2 separate regions of the Homo sapiens genome follow, and region 2 is linked to region 1. Evidence: promoter capture Hi-C in 16 types of primary human blood cells and fetal thymus (Javierre and others, 2016). All regions are on one chromosome and are shown on one strand. The core of a region is centred on a gene start or on the middle of the fragment in contact, and the rest is flanking DNA. Distances in the headings are between cores, read along the strand shown.

Region 1 (4,494 bases), core at 1,057-3,556:
AAGGGTGAATTGTATTGTATGGGAATTATTTCTCAATAAGGTGTTATAAAATAGTTGCAAATGAAGTGGGATCAAGGGTGGGGGAAGCATGAGAAGTTGTCAGTCACCATGAAATGCATAAAAGGGATTTAAATATGAAACCGGATTTAAATGTGGTGAATGGAAATGTTGATTTCTGATCAATCTGCAGAATTTAAAGACTTAAATTCTGGGCAATATCGTGAGACCTCGACTCTACGAAAATCTTTAAAAATGAGCAGAGTGTGGTGGTGTGTGCCTATAGGCCTAGCTACTTGGGAGGCTGAGGTGGGAAGATTGCTTGAGCCTGGGAAGTGGAGACTGCAGTGAGCTGAGATCACACCACTGCACTCCAGCCTGGGTGACAAAGCAAGACCCTGTCTCAAAAAAAAAAAAAAAATTGGCTATATTAAAATTTTTTTTCAATAGAAAAAAAAAACCATGAAACTCTAGATCTAGAGCAAAATTATAAAGAGACCTAATCACTTCGACCCCTGTTGGGTCCTGGCCATGACGAGCCCAGTGTGGGAATATTCATTTGGGGGCCAAAGGCGTTGAGCTGGTGTAGTCCTGGGTCACTCCCGGGTTCTCGGGAGTTTCATTCTTCCCTCTAGGCCTCAGTCTTCCCATCCGTACAGTGGGGACGGGGGCCTCTAAGGAGGTCTGAGCCCTCCCAGCTGCAGTGCTACAGGGCTTCCCAAGGGTCTTCGCTTGGCCTGACTTCACGAGCAGCTCCAACCCCTCCTCTGCTTCCCCCAGACCATGTCTGTCCCAGAGAGCCACCCCCAGGAGTCCTCCCTCAGGTCTGTTCCCTCTCATCCCAGCCCCTCATTCGGCAGCTATTCCATGCCTGCTGTATACCAGGATGTCCAGAACAGAGCTCAGCCCCCCAAATCTGCCCCTCCTCTCTCTTCCAGGAATGCCCCATGCCCCCACTGCCCATACCTACCCAACATCCAAGCAAGAACTGGGGGCATTCTGGGCCCTTTCCTCCTCACCACACCCACTCGAGGCCTCCCCATAGGCTTTTCTCTCCATATTCTGGCCTCTCCTCTCCAACTCCCCAGCCCCAGCCTCCTCCCCACTGCCTCTTCCCCACCGCATGCATTCTCCTCGCTGTATCTCACACCCCTCACCTCCCTGCTTGAAACCGTCCATGGCTCCCTGTTCAAGATAAAAGTTGACCTAACTGAAGACCGCCTTGGAGGCCCTCCCACTGCTCCCCTAGCACTGCCCCAGCACTTCCCTCCTTCCCAGAAGGAAGATGCAGCTTCCGAGACAAGCTGCTGGTGCGCTGGCCTCTGGGCCTTAGCCCATGCCGTTTCCTCTGCCTGGGCTGCCTCTCTCCTCCCGGTCATGCAGGCTGCTCTCACTCATCCTTCAAGGCTCAAAATGCACCTTGGTTTGGACACCTCTGACTTCCCAGTTAACTCTGCCCTTTTACTTCTCGGCACCTGGACCCCCTCCCTATCTCCCTAGGTGTCTTGGCAAATAGAACACTTCCCCCGGCTGAGGCACACCCATCCTTCAGGGTCACCTCTTCTAGGAAGCTTTCCCTGACCTCCCAGAGTGGGTTAGAGGACTCCTCTGGGCTCCTCCAGCTCTGGATTACCGCCACTGAAGCACACATCACATTAGCAAACAGCAACAAGCCATGGGCCAGGCTTCCCCATCAGACCGGGAGGTCCTCGAGGGAGTGAACTGGGCCTGGTTTGCCTCGGTGCACCCTCATGTCCAGATAAACCCTGAGGTGTTTTTTGGTTGAAAATCGGAATGCCTAGCCCTGCATAAAATGCTCCTGCCCCAGTCCCTCCAACTAGCTGCCCACAGCTGCAGCCTGGCTACGGGCTACGGTCCCAGCAGGAAACGGGCTCCAGCTGGAAGGCCCTGTGGCTCTTCCCTGAGCGAGGCCGGCCCCAGCCCCCAGGCCCTACCTGGCCTTGCTACCTGTAGATCAGCTCTTCAGCCAAAAGGCAGTTGAGCTCAGCAGCTTGGTGCTGGGTGGGTGCTGGGTGAGTGCTGGGTGAGTGCTGGGTGGGTGCTGGGTAGGTGCTGGGGCCAGGCTGGGAAAGAACGAGAAGCAGGGGTGGAGCATCAAAGGCAACCCAGGGAGTGGGCTCGCAGGGATGAGGGAGGAGCTGCCTCCTCTTGCTCACCTGGCTTTTCAGATTCAGGAGACCTGGATGATCCTGCTGTGGAAGTCGAGGAGGGTGAGATGTCGCTGGTGACGCTCCCAGGAGCCATGAGACCGACAGGTGCAGCCAGCAGACCCCTCACCCGGGTGTGAGGCTGCTGGGCCTGCCCACTAGGCTTATATACCAGCAGCCCACCCCCACCACTCCAATCAGCCCTGATTGGGCTGGGAGTGCTCCAAGCTGCTGACTGGGGCTGGAGGTGTGGAATGGGGCACAGCATCCTGCCTTCTGTAGGGAGCCCCAGCTGGACTACCCACTCCTGTGTAAGCTTGGGGGTGTCGCTTGACTTCTCTGGGTCTCAGTCCCCATGGTGCAATGTTGGGAGCTGAGATGCTTGATCTCGCCTGTGCCCTCTGCCCACCAGGGGCTGGAGATGCTGATGAGGAATTGGGGTCACCTGTGTTGTCAGGGAGGCCGCTGAGGCGGCCCTCTAATCCTACCAGGTGGGCAATGGGCTGCCCCACGCCACTGCTGGCCTCAATTTCTCAAAAAGTAGCAGTTGGAGGCAGCCCAACTGCTACTTTTGCCCAGAGCACATGCCCCTCAATCAGAGTAGCCCCTTCTGAGGCCAGCCAGGCTCTCTGGGCCTATGCCCTCCTTTGGTTTTGTTTTTAAAGAAATAAATCAATAACGGAGGATGCTTCACAAAAGTCTTCATAGATAAGGACAACATCCACTGGGACAATGGACAAAGAATATAAACAGGCAATTCACCAGCCTAAAGGGTGAGGAACAGAAACAGGAAAATGGACACTCAACTTCCTTGGCATTTGAGAAAATTCAAATTGAAACAATGGTGAAATACTACTTTTTCCCATCAAATTGACAGACAAAAAAAAAAAACTTTCCAAGCAAACACCCAAGGCCTGGCTAAATCACACCCTTTCTGCAGAATATTCTGCAGCCATCTAAAATGACAAGGTGGGCTGGTGCGGTGGCTCAGGCCTGTAATCCTAGCACTTTGGGAGGCTGAGGTGGGCGGATCACCTGAGGTCAGGAGTTTGAGACCAGCCTGGCCAACATGGTAAAACTTCATCTCTACTAAAAATACAAAATTAGCTGGGCGTGGTGGTGTGCACCTGTAGTCCCAGCTACTTGGGAGGCTGAGGCAGGAGAATCACTTGAACCTGGGAGCTGGAGACTGCAGTGAACCAGGATCGAGCCATTGCACTCCAGCCTGGGCAACAAGAGCGAAACTGTGTCTCAAAAATAAGTAAATAAAAATAAAATAAAATAATATAATATAATATAAAATGACAAGATGGATTAAAACAAGGATGAGAGGCCAGGCATGGTGGCTCATACCTGTAATCCCAGAACTTCGGGAGGCTGAGGCAGGAGGATCGCTTGAGCCCAGGAGTTCAAGACCAGCCTAGGCAAAAAAGTGAAATCCTGTCTCTACCAAAAAATACAAAAATTAGCTGGGCATGGTGGTGTGCACCTGTAGTCCCAGCTACCTGGGAGGCCGAGGCAGGAGGATTGCTTGAGCCTGGGAGGTCAAGGCTGCAGGGAGCTGTGATCACACCCCTGCACTCCAGCCTGGGCTACAGAGTAAGACCCTGCCCCCCCCAAAAAAAAGGGGGAGGGAAAGAAAAGAAAACAAACAAGAATGAGGCTGTATTTCACACTCAGCAAAATGACAAAGATGTAAGTGTCTATCAATAGTGAGTGACTAGGATTCAAGGAAAGTATAGCTGCTGGGGGGTGGGGAGTGAGCTGGTAGCCGCCTTAGAAAGCAATTCAGCGATGTTTCATACAACTAAGGAGGGACTCACTCCACAACCCACCTATTCCACTCTAGGCGTAGATCTGAGACAAACATATACACTTACGTGCAAAGATGTTTATTTCAATCTTAGCAGAAATTCAAAACAACATAAATGCCCATCAGGTGGAGAGTGAACAAGTAAACTGTGGCCTATTCGCACAGTGGAGTAGTATGCAGTAGTGAAAAGGAGTGAACCAGAATGTATCGGAGAGTACACCCCAACTACTGAGAAGACAAAACTTGCGTGTGTGTGTGTGTGTGTGTGTGTGTGTGTGAAGGCACAATAGTTCTTTTTAATTTTTAAAAAATTTTTTTGTTTTTTTATCTTACCAGTCACAAGCAGTAGAAAAAAGTTCTGAATGGATTCATACCAAGGTAATAGTAGAAGTGGTTACCTCTGAGGAAGGGATGGGTTTTAAACAGCATACATTCTTCTCTAGGTAGTCTCTTTATTGTGGAATTTTCCCAGAGGGCTCTCCATCACCAGAGATCTGGACTCGGGGAGGCTGTGGT
Region 2 (4,451 bases), core at 1,805-4,304, 33 kb after region 1:
AACAAGGAGCTCTGGGTCTTCTCCAGTGGAGTGGGTTTTCCTTACAGAGGGAAGGTGGGGCTGCGGCTGGGAAGGAGCTGAGAGTACAGTGAGATTTAGAAAAGAACAGGGACAATTATGTCTCCTGACATCCAAGACCTTAAAAATCTGGATCATTGCCTGGTAATGATCCAGTATCTGGCTGCACAGGCCCTTCAGGCACCTGCTCTGCTTATGGTACCACTGTGGCCCTCGATGGCTACAGAAGAGAGGAAAACCCAAAGGTAGGCTCTCAGGCCTTGGGTCCTGCTGCCTCTCCGGCCCCTCCCACCCAGGGTCCCCTCACCCTCTCCCACATGCCTTGCTTGCCTCTCCATATGCTGGGTCCTCCCCTGGAACATCCACTTGGCCATCTTCCCTGGCTGCCTCAGCTTGCATGATGGACATCTCCTCCTCCAGGTAAACTTCCCTGACCATGGCCCTGACCTCAGCTTCATTCCACCCTCAGACACAGCACACATCCACCAAACCAGACCCTAACTTGTGACCTCCCTCTTTGATGGCAGCTTTGCCACCTGGTGCCTGGCCCAGGGCTTGGGGCACAGAAGGTGCTATGTATACCTGGGCTGAACAAACACTCCCTCCTCCCCAGTCTGGAGAAGTGCCCAAGGTTCCAAGCCTGAAGGCCTGGTGCTTCTTCCATTTCAGTCACACCCTCATCTGTGGGTTCTAGGAGGGATTGGGACAGTGTGTTGGCCAGAGACCCACTGCTGGGTTCAGCTCAGAGAGCCCTGAAAACTCATCTTCTCTTGGCCTGGGCCCCTGGGCCTCCCTGCTGAGCCTCTATAGCCAAACAGCAGCGGGAGGGTGAGTTCTCTGTCTTCCCTGAGGGTTGCTGAGAGAGGAAGGTTCTGCCAGGAAAGTGCTCTGGAAGGAATTTCTTGGGGCCATTAGACAAGAACGGTGGTGGGACGGAGGAGGGATAAGAGAAAGGATACACTTTAGAGATGCCCGAGGGGGTGTCCTTGGGCAGGCTGTGCAGCAGGAACCTGGAGATGTTGAAAAGAGTTTCAGGACGATGGACACTGAACGGATCTTCCTGCAGTGAGAGAAAAGCAAACAGGGATTGAGTTCTTCAAGAGCTGCTGCTGGGCCAGGCCAAAAGGCAGACACCAATAATTCTGAGTGACATCAACAAGAGCGGCTCTGATTATTGAGCACCTACTCCTACTGTGTGCTGAGCGCCATATAGCCACTGTCTCATCTGGTCTTTAACATAATAACCTTGTGGTATGCATTTTTATCCTCACAGTACTGATGAGGAAACCGACACCTAGATAGATGATTTGCCCAAGTCACCAACTAGAACAGAGCTGAGCTGCTGTTCAAACCCAGGTCTGATTCCAAAGCCCAAGAATGTCTTTCTTCCAAGCTGTACTGCCTCTGGAGTTGGTAATTATTCCATTTCTCTGAACTACTCAAGTTGTCTCCAATTAGCTCTAAAAGAGAAGACCTTCTATGCAGCTTAGGACATAACCACTGATTCATATAAGCCTGTCTTTCAACAGAGGCATTTAGCCCTCTCCAGCATGAACCCACATGCCTCTTCTGTGCTTTCCAACAGCAGCTTGACTGATGTGCCACCAAACGAGCACACATGCGGAGTTCCTCAACTGCTGACCCATTTCCCTGGCTCCTGGCATAGGCACTAACAGGAGGCAGTTAGCACAGATTAGTGATTGGTCTTCGTACCTAGAGGCTGCCAGAAGCTCAGCAGACAAATAAGGAATTTTCTGTGTGAGGGTCTACAAAAGGTTAAGAATACCTTATTTTGAAGGCATCTGGCACACTGTATATAAACTGAGATTGCCCATTTCTAATAAAGCTTTAGATGGTGAGGATTACAGCAGGCCAGTAACTCCTCTTTCTTGTGAGCACTTAAGAAGGGTCTTGTGAGGCCCTACTCATCACTGAGCCACCAAAGCTTAACCCCTAATTGGTCTGAACTCCTGAGGACTCACTTTGCTCTACACTTCTTCAGTTCAGAGCTTAGCATTTTCTATTTAGTTCACACGTAAATTTCTATACCTTTTGTTAGCTCCAAGAACCCAAGAAAACCTGAGACCACATCCTTTCCAGGGTAAGAACAAGATGAACTCTGCCTGTGGTTCTACTGCACTAGGTAGGGAAGCTAAGTAACGTCCCAGAGAGAATAGGTAGCAGGGGAGTCCTTTCCTCTGGGAAAGATGCCATGTATCCAGGAAGGACCTGAACTTCCCTTTCCAGTCTTGCCCTGAATCAGTGCTGCTCTGCTGGGCCCTGGATGCTGAACCACAAACTACCACTCACCTCCAGGCCTTTGCACAGGCTGTGACCTTTGCCACAAACACCCTTCCTAATCCTCCTCCACTTCACTTGCCCCATTTTTATTCTCTCCCTCCTTCTGGCTGAGAGGACACCTCCTCCAGGAAGTCTCTTCACAGGCCTCTAAACGTTTCCCCTGAGGGATTGTCCTGTTTGCTAGACTGGGACTGACTGCAGGGACAACGTTTTGTTCACCACCGTGTCACCAGGTCTCATCACAGGGTCTGTCACGTAGTAGGCATTTATTGAATGAAGGAATGGCCCAATTAATAAGATTCAGCTGGGATAAGAGCCAGGGCCCCAGCTGGTCTGAGGCCCCTTAGCTCCTAGTCCCATGTAGGTCCTGGAGCAGAGCTCAGCTGTTAGAGACAGGAGCCCTCAGCCCCATGCCCCAGGTGAGGAAGAGGACAGGGAGCAGCGAGAGAAAAGTCTGAGGGAAGGAGCTGAGAGCCAGGCTCTGGAGTGGCTTGGGCAAAGTGAGGCTGAGCTGGGCCCTGACTTCCAGCCTAAGTTGAGTCTGGGCTCCTTTTGTGGTGGTTTCTCTCCAGGTGAGCACCTGATAAAGATGAGGGACCCTGAGGGGGTCTCGTTTCAGGAAAGCCAAAGACTGTAAGGGAAGATGAGGTCCCTTGAGACCACTGACCCTGCTGTGGGAAGAGATGTAACACTAGACTGACGGCATGCACAGAGCCTGTCAGGAGTCCTTCTTGCCAGACTTTCCCAAGAGGCAAAAAATGTGCTGAGAAGTCAGCACAGATTAGAGGGAAAGAAATGCCCAAGGTGGAAGGCAGGGCATTTGAGAGGTCAAAGAACGGCGGGAAGGCTGGGCGTGGTGGCTCATGCCTGTAATCCCAGTGCTCTGGGAGGCTCAGGCAGGAGGATCACTTGAGTCCAGCAGTTTGAGGCTGCCATGAGCTATGATCATGACACTGCACTCCACCTTGGGCGACAGAGACCTCATCTCTGAAAAAAGAGAAATGCTAGATGCCCAGCTGGAGGGAGCAGGTCAGGGAAAGCTGGCGTGAAGCCTTGCCTGGAGCAGCAGTAAGGATAGCTGCCACCTAGGGTCACTCTGTGCTAGGTACTCTTCCAATATTAACTCGTCTAATCCTCAAAACAATCCCATCAAGTACATAGTGCTGTTATCCCTATTTTATAGAGAAAGAAGCTGAAGGCCAGAGAAGATAAGTAACACAGTGTCATTTGTGTGTGAGGACTCTCGAGTTTACCCACTAAACCAACATACTAGCCTGCTTTCTCTAAAAGGAGACAGGGAGGGAAAGGCTAGGAACACAGGCTCCAGTGCCAGACTACTGAGACTCACATATTGGCTCTGGAATTTGCTGTTTGATAGTAGAATACATTCTTAAATGTGGTTATGTTATACATCATTTCAACGGGCATTTCTCGCTTTATGTTTTTTTGCTAATGAGTTATTACTTACTGTTTATTTTAGACTATGCAAATGATGTTAGACAAAAAACAAATTCAAGCAGTTTTCTTATTTGAGTTCAAAATGGGTCATAAAGCAACAGAGACAACTCGTAACATCGACAACGCATTTGGCCCAGGAACTGCTAACAAACATACAGTGCAGTGGTGGTTCAAGAAGTTTTGCAAAGGAGATGAGAGGCTTGAAGATGAGGAGCATAGTGGCCGGCCACTGGAAGTTGACAACAACCGAGAGCAATCATCGAAGCTGATCCTCTCACAACTACAGGAGAAGTTGCCGAAGAACTCAATGTCAACCATTCTACGGTTGTTTGGCATTTGAAGCAAATTGGGAAGGTGAAAAAGCTTGATAAGTGGGTGCCTCATGAGCTGATAGAAAATGAAAATATAGTCGTTTTGAAGTGTTGTCTTTTCTTATTCTATGCAACAACAACAAAACATTTCTCAATCAGATGTGAGGTGTGACAAAAAGTGGACTTTACATGACAACCGTGATGACCAGCTCCACGGCTGGACTGAGAAAAAGCTCCAAAGCAGTTCCCAAAGCCAAACTTGCACCAAAAAAAGGTCATGATCACTGTTTGGTGGTCTGCTGCTGGTCTGATCCACTACAGTTGTCTGATCCTGGTGAAATGATTACATTTGAGAAGTATGCT

The links. Contacts are between HindIII fragments. The CHiCAGO score rates a contact against its expected background, and 5 or more counts as called.
Region 2: a contact is called between a fragment that was not itself captured here and the fragment with the promoter of H1-8 in region 1, in 1 of 17 cell types (endothelial precursors). The highest score is 6.2, in endothelial precursors.

The regions. Positions count from the first base shown.
Region 1 is chr3:129,540,987-129,545,480 of GRCh38, reverse strand. It overlaps H1-8 (H1.8 linker histone), which reads right to left and starts at 2,306. Exons shown (of 5, transcript NM_153833.3): 1 at 2,175-2,306. The coding sequence starts at 2,262. RefSeq lists an enhancer at 2,266-2,767. The HindIII fragment of the contact is 913 bases long and covers 1,571-2,483 here.
Region 2 is chr3:129,508,939-129,513,389 of GRCh38, reverse strand. It overlaps IFT122 (intraflagellar transport 122), which reads right to left. Exons shown (of 30, transcript NM_052989.3): 24 at 978-1,078. Among named protein-coding and RNA genes, the nearest start is that of RHO, 17 kb to the left of the region's middle. The HindIII fragment of the contact is 2,177 bases long and covers 1,966-4,142 here.